Regions from separate parts of the Homo sapiens genome. Here regions 1, 2 and 4 are each linked to region 3. The links are contacts of gene promoters, found by promoter capture Hi-C in blood cells and fetal thymus (Javierre and others, 2016). All regions are on one chromosome and are shown on one strand. The core of a region is centred on a gene start or on the middle of the fragment in contact, and the rest is flanking DNA. Distances in the headings are between cores, read along the strand shown. Region 1 holds the start of NKX2-6 (NK2 homeobox 6). Region 2 overlaps LOC107986930 (a long non-coding RNA gene). Region 3 holds the start of ADAM7 (ADAM metallopeptidase domain 7). Region 4 overlaps LOC107986930 (a long non-coding RNA gene).

Region 1 (3,402 bases), core at 585-3,084, 730 kb after region 3:
GAGGAGGAGGAGGGGAAGAAGAAGAAGAAGAAGAAGAAGAAGAAGAAGAAGAAGAAGAAGAAGAAGAAGAAGAAGAAGAAGAAGAAGAGGAGGAGGAAGAAGAAGAAGGAGCAGCAGCTGGAAATATTTGGGTATAGCTTTGATGTGAAGATTAAATGTTACCATGTATAGGAAATCATTACTTTGTAGCTGAATGATCAAATGTGCTGAAATTTTGCATAAATATTTGTGTGCAATTTTGCACCCATTAGCCTGGGGAGATGAGTTGGGTTTATCTGAATTTCAGGAGATAATCATATTCAAACAGCTGTTGTAACATTGAATTCACGTAAGTAGGTTTAAGAAGCATTTGAAGCCTGCGCGGTGGCTCACACCTGTAATCCCAGCACTTTGGGAGGCCGAGGTGGGCACATTACTTGAGCCCAGGAGTTCAAGACCAGCCTAAGCAACATGGCGAAACCCCGGCTCTACAAGCAATAAATAAATAAATAAATAGCCAGGCTTAGTGGCTGCATCTGTGGTCCCAGCTACTCAGGAGGCTGAGGTGGGAGGATCACTGAGTCCGGGTCGAGGCTGCAGCGAGCCATGATCCGGCCACTGCATTCCAGCCTGGGAGACAGAGAGAGACCCTGTAACCAAAAAAAAAAAAAAAAAGGAAGAAAGAGAAAGAAAGAAAAGAAAGAAAGAAAAAGGAGGGAGGGAGGGAGGGAAAGGAAGGAAAGAAAAACAAAAAGAAACATTTGATCTGAAATCCCCAAAAGAACTCTAATGAGATCCCATTGTGATTAAAACACAATTTTTAAACCCTCTTCGATTCAGTGCTGGAACAGCTGACACCAAATCACGTTTCCCTGATCCAGGAGTAGTAACAGCAGGGGCTGGATCTGTTGGCGCTATCTCCGTGTTGGTAACCTTTGTGCCACACTGCGCCATTTACTCGGTGCCCGCCGTAACCAAGGGCCTTTTCTGGAGATCTAATGCGAGTCAAATCTTCCCAGCCCTTCGGCGGGCGCCGCATTTATACGCGCACACAAGCTGGCACGCTCCAGGCAATCCGCTTTAAGGAGGATAAAGGAGAGGAAGAAAAAGAACGTGGGGACGCCAAGGGCGACGGAAGCCCACCCCCCCCCACCCCCACTCCCGCCTCTGACCACTTTGCGCGGGCCGCAGAGATTGCCTTCCAGTCTCCCCCACCATTCGCGGAGCCCTTTAAGAGGTCGAGGGCTCCCCACATGTAGCCCCCACACCCATTCCTCGGTCCTGGGGCTGAGAAGCTGCTCCTAGGAAGTGGCGGGTCGGGACTCCGCAGACCTGGATTCTGTTCAAAGAGAGAGGTTTCCATCTCAATATAGGCCCTGGTGGGTCAAGACTCACTTCTACTCTGCGGTCCGGCCTCTGCGCACGTAAGATCCCAGCGCGCGCCTCAAATTCCGCGGGTCCCAGCTGTCTCTATCTTAGCTTTCCTCCGCCATAAGAATGCAGAGTTGAGCTAAGACCAGGCTGGATGGACCGGATCGGGTTGCACAGCAAGGACTCCACCTCCAATCCCCGCATGTCCACTAGGAGGGTCCCCGTGGACCCTAGGTTGACCTCGGAAGCTCCCGCTAGTACCGTATTGACGGAGATCCAAGCCGCGCGCAGCACTGTCTCTCCACGTTTTCTTTGCTTTGAGAACCGTCAATACGAACCAAACCTCCCAGGAAGGCGACTGGGGACTGGAGAGGATTCGACGGGCGCGGGAAGAAAGCGCTGGGGGAGGAAGGTGCAGAGCTAGCACGTGGTTTCTGCGAGAACCAATGGGGGGCTACGGTCTCGTCACCCGGCCCTGGACCCGGGCCTACCAGCATGGCCCAGAGGAAGGCGCTGTCTGGGACGCTGGGCGTCTGTCCCAGAGCTTGGGTCTGTCTGCGGGGCCTGCAGCGACAAGACGGGAAGTTCAGGGTGCCGCTCCTCACCCGGACCTCCTCGGCCCCGCCCCATCCGCCTTCGGGATGCTGCTGAGCCCCGTCACCTCCACCCCCTTCTCGGTCAAGGACATCCTGCGACTGGAGCGCGAGCGGAGCTGCCCCGCGGCTTCGCCACATCCGCGGGTGCGGAAGAGCCCGGAAAACTTTCAGTACCTGAGAATGGACGCAGAGCCGCGAGGGTCAGAGGTTCACAACGCTGGTGGCGGCGGCGGTGACAGAAAGCTGGATGGTTCGGAGCCTCCTGGGGGTCCCTGTGAGGCAGTCTTGGAGATGGACGCGGAACGGATGGGGGAGCCACGTGAGTAAGCGCTCAGGTCTTGCCTCCTACGGGGGGAATGTGGGGGCGGGGGCGTGATCCATGGGTGCATGGGGAAAATACGCCTCCTATCTCCTGGGTTCGAGACTCTCTCCATTTTCTCTCGAGGAGTCCAAAAAAAGGCCTCTCGAATCCCATTCCCATCCTCTCCTGACACCCAGTGTGCTTCACACACCCCTAACGAAAGTAAGGCCCTGAATCTCAAGGATTCACTTTTCCCAAATCCGCTCCTCTGATTCCCACAAACGCATCGCTCACACTCGCAGCCACAGTGCCCAGAACCTCCACCTTCTCATCTCCACAGCGAAACCCTCCGCAGTGTCTTAGCCGTGCCAGTCACCACCGCCCTTCCCTACCATCACCTGGTGTCTCTCCACCCCCAAACCGTTTGCAAAAGCGTGTGGCCATCAAAGCAGTGGAACCCTCGTGGCGCTGAGGTCACTCCTAACTGGGCCCTTTCTTGCTGGTCTGGTCGGGGGACCCCCCCATTCCTCCTCATGGATTTTTCTTCTGGAAGACGAAAGTTGGGGACCGGGTGGCGATTGAGTCTCCCGAAGTGGAAGGCCCCGTTGGCGCAGGATTCTCCGCGTCAGGGAGAACGTTAAAGGTTGCCAGGGTTTTCTCTGCCCTGGGACACGGTTCTGGCCGAGTCCTGTCGCAGGTATCCAAAGGCGCAACCGTGCGCGCCGGGCTGCGAGGCCCACGCACCTGTGTCCAGCCCGCTGGAAGGGAAGGGGCTGGCGGGGAGTTGTGTTGCGTCGATCCGGGAGTTGTGTTGTGTCGATCCGGAGGCTTCAGCTGGAGAGGCCCGATATTCCAAGGGATGAAAACGCCACCTTTTTCTCTCCAAACCTCAGCACCTCACTCGGCATTCTCAACGCAGGGGCCCTGAGTAGCGCCCGCCAGGGCAGGCCTCCTCTGCCAGACTGTGCCATGGCGCCTCCATTCAAGGCGCGAACGAAAGAAATAAACCAAGGGGCTAGATCGGAGTTATTTACCGGCCTGCAGGCCGGCTACTCACTAACTCCAGAAGCCTAAGAACATTACCTGCTGTGTCCGCGAAGAAGCTGGTAGGTTTTCTGCAGCGGATTCTAAACTCCCTCGGCGCTGCTCAGCCAA
Region 2 (3,286 bases), core at 134-2,633, 690 kb after region 3:
GGCAAAATTTTTCTTCAAGCAAATCCTAGAGCTGGGAGCGTTCAATAGTGAGGACTACATGCTACCTCTGCCTTGGGCCAGGATGGCAGGAACCTAGATCGGAGACATTTAGCCACATCTGACCCCCAAGCCCAGCTCTGGGCATCCATCTGACAATTTGGAGCGCTGCTGAGTGCAGAAAACTGCCTTTCTGGCACTGGAGAAGGGATTCCTGTTTAGAGAGTTGGGGAGAAAGGAAAATGTCTCTAAGCGTACTTCTGTGATTCTGGCAAAGCAAAAACGTCAAGATCCATGTTTCCAAGTCTCCCTAAATGAAGATATTTAATTAGGGTGATTAAGAGTTCCACATTCAAGCAATTGAATTTAGTGTTTTCTCTTGAATTCTAACCTTTCAGTTTTAAAAGGATGCCACTGTTGGCATTATCTGACTTTATTTTGAGATTCTAATCCCCACCTGTACGAGGCAGGGTTCCTTCATTGGGACTGCGGGAATTATGCCTGCCGGCAGTGAGCAGGAAGACGCCTTGCACAGTGAGACCCCCACTCCTCAGCCACTCTCAGCAGCAGGGTCCACAGGGTTAGGGGTCCTGAGGGAGTTAGGGGAGTAGTGAGGGACTCACTCGCTACCTCTCAAGCCTATCTGGGTCCTTAAAAAGGAGACTTCAGAAAAGTCCATTTAATCCAACCCCTCATTTTAGTGACAAGGAAAATTGAGACTCAGACGGATACTATAATGGTAGCTATGCATCCTTTGTCCAAATCCCCAGAATGTCCAATAGCAAGAGTAAACTCTAACTTAAACTATGAGCTTTTGGTGATTGTGACATGTTGATGTAGTTTGATCAATTGTAACAAATGCTCCACTCTAGTGGGGGATGTCCACAGTGGGGGAGGCTGTACATGTGTCAGGGCAGCAGGATATGGGAAACCTCTGTGCCTTTTGTTCAATTTTGCTGTCAATCTAAATACTCTAAAAAGCCTATTTGTCTATTAAAAATTCGTCTATTAAAACGTCTACTCGGCCAGGCACAGTGATGCATGCCTGTAATTCTAGCACTTTGGGAGGCCAAGGCAGGCAGATTGCTTGAACTCAGGAGTTTGAGACCAGCCTGGGCAACATGGCAAAAACCCTTCTCCACTAAAAATGCAAAAATTAGCCAGGTGTGGTAGTGCATACTGTGGTCCCAGCTACTCAGGAGGCTGAGATGGAAGGATCACTTGAGCCCAAGAGGTCAAGTCTGCAGTGAGCCTTTATTGCACTACTGCACTCCAGCCTGGGTGACAGAACAAGACCCTGCCTCAAAAAAAAAAAAAAAGATTTTACTCAAAATTCCCAAGAGAAGGAGGGCATGCCAGGCCATGGGAGTGGGAGGCCATCAGGGTTGGGTCAGGAGGCAGAGGGCTTCCATGTGAAAGAAGAGGCAAGGCAGGGTAAGCAGCTTAGGGCCAGCCAGTTTGAATAATTTCAGTGGGCTCTGGGGCTAGGGGTTGGCCCTAGTCATCTAGTACCTGGCCCTGGGGTAATGAAGACAAGGGAATAGCAGTCCAGAGTGTGAGAGCCAGATACAGAAGGTTGTTGAAGGAATGGGTTCTAGATGGATTGGTCTGTATACAAAAGGTACACTCAAAAGCAAGTTCTTTACCATCTCTGGAAATTAGCTAGCCTTGGAAGGGATAGTCCCTCCAGTGTCAGCAAGGCCCCACATGTCAAAGCATCAGAAACACATGGGTAATATGCTATGGTCGCACAGTGCGCTTAGTGGCACAGACAGGTAGGACCTGGGACTCTCAACCCAGTTCTCTCCTCACTGAAGTTCGCTGCAGTCCCTCCAGCCCAGCCCAGCCTCATCTGCATCCTCTACCATCTTGCAAGCTCAAAACATTATTTCTTAAGGAACTTGCTCATTTGACTCTGAGAGGCTTCTTTCTCTAGTTTATCCTTTAATTTTCTCCTCTTACAGCTACTTATTTTCTAACAACAGAAAATCCTTTTATGCACATTATGCACATAAAGTCACCGTGTCCAACTGGGACTCACACCGTAGGTTACTGGACTTTACCCACTTTCCAGGACTTAGCTAATTAGCACACGAGGCCAACTGCATGAAACGGGCAGGTGTCAGCTCTGTGTTTTCTCTGGGGCTGGACAAGGTTTCTTGCTGCCACAAGGGGCTGTCTGTGGAGGCTCAGCCTGCCTGCCCCATCACAGTTCAAGCGAAGAGTTAGCATCAGGGATGCATTATCTGTAACAAGATGTTTCTTCCCACACAGAGCAAGCCCAGGCCCCGGAAGGAAGGACTCTGAGGTCCAGGCACATAGGCAGGCATGGTCTGAAAGGTGTGAGTCACAGGACTCTGCTACCCAGAGAGGTGAGGCACTTGGTCTCAGCACTTGAGGAGGGGAAACTGGCAAGAATGAGACAGTCACGGAGGACCCCACCAGGTGATCAGAACAGGAACCCAAGGGGACGTAGCTCTTTGTGCAGGTACAAATCCCTGGCAACCAGCACAGGCCTGAGCAGGGACTCAGTGAATATGGAATGAATAAAGGAACCAATGACAAAAATATACTGGGTGCATGGCAAAGGTTCCAGCTGTGGAACTTGGAAAAAGAACCTTGTTATAAGGCCAAGTTCATGTATCAAATATAAGAGTGCAGGGGGAGCTGTGGGAAATAACAAGGCAGAGGTCTGTGGCTATAGTGGCAAAAAGAGTGACTCAACACTACATCGCACTTTAGTGTGTGTGTGTGTGTCTGTGTGTGTGTCTGTGTGTGGATTTGGGTCTGGAAGTAGCAGAACTGTTACAGAGCTGAGCCAGTGTAGACTACTCCTGCCTCGATTCAAAGTTGGCCTGGAAACTGGTGTGGAAGCTGAGCTGCGGGGGAGGTAAATCAGTGGCCTGCTCTGTAGAAACACAGTAATAGGGGAAACCAGGCAGGATCAGGGTTGAGTTAGGGTTAGGACAGGATTAGGGTTATAGTTAGAAAAGGGAAGGCAGCTAATGCAGTAAGCAAAAAAAAAAAAAAAAGAAAGAAAAAAAAAGTAATAGTTTATGCTTCTGACAGCATCAGGAGATTAGAATAATCTTCAGGCTTCAGTGTTCTGGGGCACATTGACCTCCCAAAGCCACCTTTTTCCTATTTTCATGCCTTGCACCAAGAAGAGGCAAATCCCTTCCTTCCTTCCTTCTCAATTCTCAAACCTATGCTACCATCCTCAGTTTGAAAAGAACATTTGATTCTCAATCAACACAAGTTTGAAAGCCCACAGTATCCATGATGCTGC
Region 3 (3,695 bases), core at 267-2,766:
GCTTCTGTATCAGAGGAAGCTTTTTAGGACGAACCAGTTGTTGACCCTCTACTCCAAGGATGAACTTTTCTACGAGGAAACATAAGAGGAAAAAATCCGTCTGACATTAACATTCGTCTACAGCGGCTGAAAAACAGAATTGTTCTAATACAGTTCATTTGCCCCCAGTTAGCAGCCATGGACAGCAACACTATGAAATGTTATTCCCACTTTACTGGCAAGGAAATTGACACTGATATTTACAAATCAGGAGAATATAAGGAAACTTGGAAAGGAGCCAAAGAAATCAGTGTCCCTCCATTTCCTCCATATTTTCGCCATGTTCTGCAGCTGTAATTTTATTTTTTGTTTCATTTATTTATTTTTTTGAGACAGAGTCTCGCTCTGTCAGCCAGGCTGGAGTGTAGTGGCGTGATCTCGGCTCACTGCAACCTCCGCCTCCCCGGTTCAAGCGATTCTTCCACCTCAGCCTCCCAAGTAGCTGGGATTACAAGTGCACACCACCATGCCTGGCTAATTTTTGTATTTTTAGTAGAGACGGGGTTTCACCATGTTGGCCAGGCTAGTCTCAAACTCCTGACCTCAGGTGATCCACCTGCCTCAGCCTCCCAAAGTGCTGGGATTACAGGCATGAGCCACCATGTCTGGCCTGCAGTTGTCGTTTTGTTATCCTCATGCCAACCTCTGGATTTTGTCTCCTGTCAAAGCCTGCACTGTTGTCCTGTTTGAATGTAAATTACTGAATTTGGTCTTCCAGGGATGTTTGCATTTAAAGTCTTACCTTTCGTAGTTAAGTATAAGACCTTTACCTGTTAAAGAATTTTGGGTAGCCCTGCATCAGTGCCAACCATAATCTTCTATTCATGTCCTATCACCTTGATAGTCATCTGTGAGATGAGCCCTGCTTAATTAAGGTGTGATACTTAAAGAGCAATAAAAAGGAGAGGGCATGGGGTTTCTGGAATATGCTCTGATTTGAATCAAGCCTTTACCAATTTATTGTGTGGCCAGCAGTAGCATATTTAATTTCTCTGATCTGTAAATAGTCTCATTTTCCTTATCTGTAAAGTGGAGATATTAATTTCAAATTTTAAACACTTTAACATACAAAGCAGCTAATGGCCAGCACAGTGCCTGCCATGCTGCAGATATGCAGTACTTGTCCACTCCTTTCTCCTCCTCACTGTGGGTCAGAATGTTCAAGAGTGATATGGCATTACACAGATGCATGGAGTCTCATGATTAGCTGTAATCTAGTCGAAGCTCTCAGAAAAATCATCAACGTTTAATGTTTTTATCACTTACAGTTTAAAGTTTGTGACTAAAGAGACACAACCTCACAGCATAATAAGAAAGTCCTGATAAAAAGAGCAAGACATACCTTTAACCTGAGGAATGAGTAAAATCATCAAGAATATACACCCGGGAAGCATTCTGAGTGATTCTGGTAGAGGAGAGCAGAAGTGCTTGAGAAAAGGAGTTCACCTTTCTTCCTCCTCACTTCCACTGCAGGGATGAAGCACCTCACAGATAGGTGGGCAGTTTTGATCCACAACAAGGAAGTGTTCCTTGAGGGAGTTACACAACTTGCTAGGTGCTTGAGGCTAAAACCTGGAGGTTGAACATCATGTTCTAATTAAAGACAACTACCGAGGTGGTGGTGGTGAAGGTTGGCTGGACATAGATTCCTACGTCATGTCTAATATAAATTTGATTCCAGATATCTGAAAACTTCAAAAGTGGAAAAAAATCAAGAATGTCTTAGGAAAAAAATGTTGAAAAATATTTATATATGCTTTGGTTGAAGATGGTTAAATTCTTTCTATGCAGAGTATGCCATATAAAAACTAAAAGGAACATTTGTTAAATGAGAAATATTGAAAATTTATATGGCATAAATCACATATTAAAATTAAAATATCCAAACTACAGAAATGTATGTAATAAATAAATAAAAGGTGGGAGTAAGTGTCCATATAATATAGAGCCCTTTCAAAGCAATACAAAAAAGAATACCAATGGACAGATGTGCAAAGGGCCTCGACAATTCCATCTGTATGTCTGTGTTCTCTTGTTATGTTAGTAGAGTTATCCCATGGCCAATAGAATCCTTTTATCTTCATTTGGGATTCTATTTCTCACCCGCATCTATATGTCTCTAATATTTCCACAAACTGAACGAATCTATGTCAATTGGAAGCTTCCTTTTGATATTTAGACCCTCTGCTCCAAGGACGACTTTTTCTACAAGGAAACATAAGAGGAAAAATCCATCTGACATTAATATTCATCCATTGTGGTTGAAAAACAGAATTGTCCTCATACAGTTCACTTGCTCCCAGTTAGCAGCCATGTATAGCAGCATTATAAAATATAATCCCCACTTTGCAGGTGGGGAAATTGACACTGATATTTACAAATTGGGAAAACATAAGCAAACTTGGAAAGGAGGCAGAGAAATCGGAGTCCCTTGGCTTAAAACGGGGGTACCATTTTAAGTCAAGTCAAAAGTCTCTCCTTTTTGAAAAATTCTCTCTATTCTATATCTCATATACTCTTACTATCACTTTTTCTCCCATTTCCTTTACAGCTAAATTTCTAACACAGTATTACCTGGACTTCTTGCAATTTTCTTACCTCAAACTTATCCTACCACATCCCAGTTCTAGCATCTGCCTTTATTATTCTACTGAAATGGCCAATATCTCCAGTGATTTTACCATTTCTATATCCAAGAGATATTTTGTTTCCTCATCTCATTTGCCCTTTTAACAATTTTTAGCACTGTTGACCACATCCTTCCCCTTGAAATATACTATTTAGCTCCCTTGCCACAATAGCCTTCTTAACTTCTTCCTGGTTCAGTGGCAACTTGTAGGTATATCCTTTTCTATGTAGCATTTAAATTTTTGAGTTCCTTGAGGTATTTATTAAACACCCTCTTTTCCTCCGATTATGCTTGTTCCAAAGCCATCTCATCTTCAGTTATGGTTTAATTATTGCTATGCTATGCCTCACATTTTATATTTCTAGCCATTTGGGCAACAGATCTTTACAGCAAAGTTTCTACTTAATGTCTTCATTGGGAAGGATCAAAGTCCTTGTAAAATCAATATGTACAAGACTTAAAATACATTTCCCCCCAGTTTGTCCTCTGTCTTGGCCAGCAGTGCCTCATCCCTTTAGCATTGCAATTCTGAAAGTCAGTATCATCAATGACATCCCTTATAATCAGTCCACCACTAAGTTTTTTTTTTTTGCCTCCATTATAGTCCAAGACATTCTTTGGTTACATTGCAACAAGTGTGATTATTTATTTATTTTTTATTTCTGAGATGCAGTGTCGCTCTGTCACCTAGGGTGGAGTGCAGTGGTGCAATCTTGGCTCACTGCAACCTCTGCCTCCTGGGTTTAAGCAATTCTCCTGTCTCAGCTTTCTGAGTAGCTGAGACTACAAGTGTGTGCCACCATGCTGAGCTAATTTTTGTATTTTTAGTAAAGATAGGGTTTCACCATGTTGGCCAGGCTGGTCTCAAACTCCTAACCTCAAGTGATCCACCTGCCTCAGCCTCCCAAAATGCTGGGATTACAGGTGTGAGTCACTGTGCATGACCACAAGTGTAATATTTTTAATAGGTAAACCTGGCCATGTCATGTGCCTGTTAAAAAAAAATGCTTCAATAGTTTTTCACTGG
Region 4 (3,185 bases), core at 168-2,667, 660 kb after region 3:
GATGATCTCAAAATGTCAAACAATAATAAGGGTCAACCTTTAGGAGAGAAAATTATAAAATGAAAGGCAGGGGAGAGCAGGACAGCTGGAGGTATATGCAGTCACATTCCAAGTGTCCCTTTATAAATGGAGAAAGTCACATGGAGAGGGGTCCTCCCACTTTGGTGAGCTACATCAGAGTCATCTGAGGAGGCTGTGAACAGACAGACATCTAGCCCCCACCCCAGGAATTCCAACTCAACAGGTCCGAGTAACAAAGTGTCTAGAGCATCACTCTTTGAGAAATCCCTTGCTAGAAGAAGGAAAAATAAAAAGATAGGAAGCTTAGTGTTCCAGAGAGTAGGTTAGATTAGGAGACTCTGAATTAGCCAGAAAATTTAGGAATCCAAGTTACCCGCAGAGAGGTATTAACAAGACAATTCACATATTCCCATATGTATAGGGCTGGTTTGCAGCTTGCATGCACCTGCAGGGCCATACCAGTGATCTGTACCTAGTATCTGTGCTGATTGGCCTGGGCCTGTGCTATCCCAGTTGCCAAACTTTATGCATGTCACCATTGCAAGGACATGGTAAAAGCAGCTGAACACCAACCATGGTAATTCTTAAAAATATTTAAGGGACCTTATTTGTAAAACTGACAAGTACACAAATATGCAGAGCAGATGAACATTTAAATGTTCAAAGGAGGTTTTGTTTCTTGTTATTCTTGCTTGAACTGAAATATTTGGTGATTTATGGAAGTAAAACAAATCTGCATATGTGACAGACAATGTTTCTGCCTAAAAAGCAGGAGTATGGCCGGGCGTGGTAGCTCATCCTGTAATCACAGCACTTTGGGAAGCCAAGATGGGCGGATCACCTGAGGTCAGGAGTTCGAGACCAGCCTGGCCAACATGGCCAAACCCCATCTCTACTAAAAATACAAAAATTAGCCAGGCATGATGGCAGGTGCCTGTAGTCCCAGCTACTCCAGAGGCTGAGGCATGAGAATTGCCTGAACCCGGGAGATGGAGGTTGCAGTGAGCCAAGATTGCACCACTGCACTCTGGCCTGGGTGACAGAGCAAGACTCTGTCTCAAAAAAAAAAATTAATTAATTAAAAAAAATAAATGAAAAGCAGGAGTGAATCCACTGGCTTATTGCTGCTTCCCTCAGTTCTCCATGTTTGAAGTGAATTCAGCTATAGTGTCAAGGGTGCCTCATGCACTCAAGAATCAGAAATTGCCCTGTGATTTGCCCACCACCTGGACCCTCATCAAAGTGAAGTGGCTGTCCTAGTGACTGTCCTCCTTCTCATCCTCTTGACTGATTTCCTCTCACCCTGCCCTTCTGCTTCTACTTTGATCTGACCCCCTCCCGCTTAGTCACAACGCATCTGTTTATCTAAACATTATTGAGCTTTGGAGAAATTACACTACAGAAGCCAAATAGATAAATAAACTCTGATCTTAGACCTCAACTAGATCAAGTTTATTAGTCCCATAGGATGTTTATCTTGGAGAAGTGCAACTTCAGATCTGGATTCATTATTTGTGGAGGCTGCCAGATCCATCCATGGTACGATCTATGTGGGAAAAGGGCAAATGAGGACTGTGCTAATCCCAGCATTCAGGTTTAAGAGGCTCCCTAAAGAGCATCTCTCTTACTGGCCTGGGTTCTGAGACAATTGAGAAATGAAAGTAAAACCTCTCTTTAATGAGAGGCTAAATTATCATCTTTATTACTGATAAATATTATAGTAGAGAATGTGGCGGCTAAGATGATGGAACAAATAGGCTTCCTCGTCTTGGATCCCAAAATTTTCCATATTTTACCAGGCAATCACAAGAAGATGCTATCCTTGTTTTAGCACTGAAAGCCCCACATCCCAAGAAACCCCTAAGTCCTGAGCAAACCTGGATGATGGGTCACCCCAGCTAGACCAGCGTAGACCGCCTCCAACACCATGGGGAGAAGAACAGATAACACTTCCTACAGGCAGCTCCCTCTCAAGAGAAAGGAACCAGAAAGGCCTCGGCTATGGAGCCCAATTTCTCCTTCCAAGCTCACCAATCAAATAAGGACAAGAGCATCAAGCTGGTGGATCCCCACCTCATGAAAGGAAACATTTAAAGTTGGGGGAAACATTCCTTTTCATCACCAAATTCGATCAATGTAACCAATACAAATAAACCCTTGACAATCCAATAGGAATTCATTGAAAGTGTGACTATAGACTAATTTGAAAAGATAGATAATTTTAACCCACCAGGCCAACATAGTGAAACCCTGTCCCTACTAAAAATACAAAAATTAGCCAGGCATGGTGGCGCGCACCTGTAATCCCAGCTACCTAGGAAGCTGAAGTGGGAGAATCATTTCAACACGGGTGGCAGAGGTTGAAGTGAGCCAAGATCTCACCACTGCATTCCAGCCTGGGCTACAGAGTGAGACCCTGTTTCAAAAAAAAAAAGAAAAGAAAAGATATATAATTTTATGGGTTTCATATAATAACTCAAACTAAGCTTTATAAGTATTATTTAGTAATAGTTTCATTGTTTAATAAAGTATGCATGGTATAATGGGGGTTTGTGGTTGGATTAGGCCAAGTGATCAATTCTTGCCATTGATTTGCGAGCATAAGCATTATGTGTCATTTCCTGTGCAAATGTTTAATTTCCAGTGTGTGGCCATTCAGTGCACTCTTTTCACCCTACTGTGGTAACCAGAAAAGTTCCAGATCGTGATTACTCTGAGTAAAGGTGATAATGACATGGCTACAGGGTCTCCAATCAATCTGCAAAGGACATGTAACACAAGTGAGAAATAAGCAACTGTACTCCTGCACAATCAAAACTTGGAGATGAGTATTACCACATAACAACCAAGTCTATCATGACTGATACCATGGGTCATAGCAACTACCTAAAACATGAATAGAAAAAAGATTGAAAGGAAATATTAACAGTAATTGCCTCTCTGAGATAGGATTTTAAGGTCTTTAATTTCTGCTCCTTGATACTTTTTTGTCCTCCTAGGTTTGTTTTATTGAGATTGTTTTAAATGTCCCCACTAAAAAAAATAAATAAATAAACAAAAACAGATACTTTAGACGACCTGCTTTGAAAATATAAAGAGGAATACTTTAAAAGTATTGTATCAGTTGTTTACGTGCAAATCATGTGTCATGATACTAGTTTAAT

Evidence for each region. The method cuts DNA at HindIII sites, captures the fragments that hold promoters and counts their contacts. A CHiCAGO score of 5 or more calls a contact.
Region 1: the fragment with the promoter of NKX2-6 here is called in contact with the fragment with the promoter of ADAM7 in region 3 in 5 of 17 cell types (M0 macrophages, total B cells, naive B cells and 2 more); the score reaches 11.0 in M0 macrophages.
Region 2: a contact is called between a fragment that was not itself captured here and the fragment with the promoter of ADAM7 in region 3, in 1 of 17 cell types (naive B cells). The highest score is 5.8, in naive B cells.
Region 4: a fragment that was not itself captured here is called in contact with the fragment with the promoter of ADAM7 in region 3 in 1 of 17 cell types (total B cells); the score reaches 5.7 in total B cells.

What each region holds. Positions count from the first base shown.
Region 1 is chr8:23,705,188-23,708,589 of GRCh38, reverse strand. It overlaps NKX2-6 (NK2 homeobox 6), which reads left to right and starts at 1,834. Exons shown (of 2, transcript NM_001136271.3): 1 at 1,834-2,265. The coding sequence starts at 1,992. All of the region lies in intron 3 of LOC107986930 (a long non-coding RNA gene), which reads right to left. RefSeq lists an enhancer at 3,215-3,402. The HindIII fragment of the contact is 21,372 bases long and covers 1-3,402 here.
Region 2 is chr8:23,752,063-23,755,348 of GRCh38, reverse strand. All of the region lies in intron 3 of LOC107986930 (a long non-coding RNA gene), which reads right to left. Among named protein-coding and RNA genes, the nearest start is that of NKX2-6, 47 kb to the right of the region's middle. The HindIII fragment of the contact is 7,978 bases long and covers 1-3,286 here.
Region 3 is chr8:24,438,847-24,442,541 of GRCh38, reverse strand. It overlaps ADAM7 (ADAM metallopeptidase domain 7), which reads right to left and starts at 1,516. Exons shown (of 22, transcript NM_003817.4): 1 at 1,382-1,516; 2 at 1-69. The coding sequence starts at 1,433. The region is part of intron 1 of ADAM7-AS1 (ADAM7, ADAMDEC1 and ADAM28 antisense RNA 1); the gene reads left to right. The HindIII fragment of the contact is 2,181 bases long and covers 22-2,202 here.
Region 4 is chr8:23,782,984-23,786,168 of GRCh38, reverse strand. All of the region lies in intron 3 of LOC107986930 (a long non-coding RNA gene), which reads right to left. Among named protein-coding and RNA genes, the nearest start is that of STC1, 70 kb to the left of the region's middle. RefSeq lists an enhancer at 1,504-2,087. The HindIII fragment of the contact is 2,184 bases long and covers 326-2,509 here.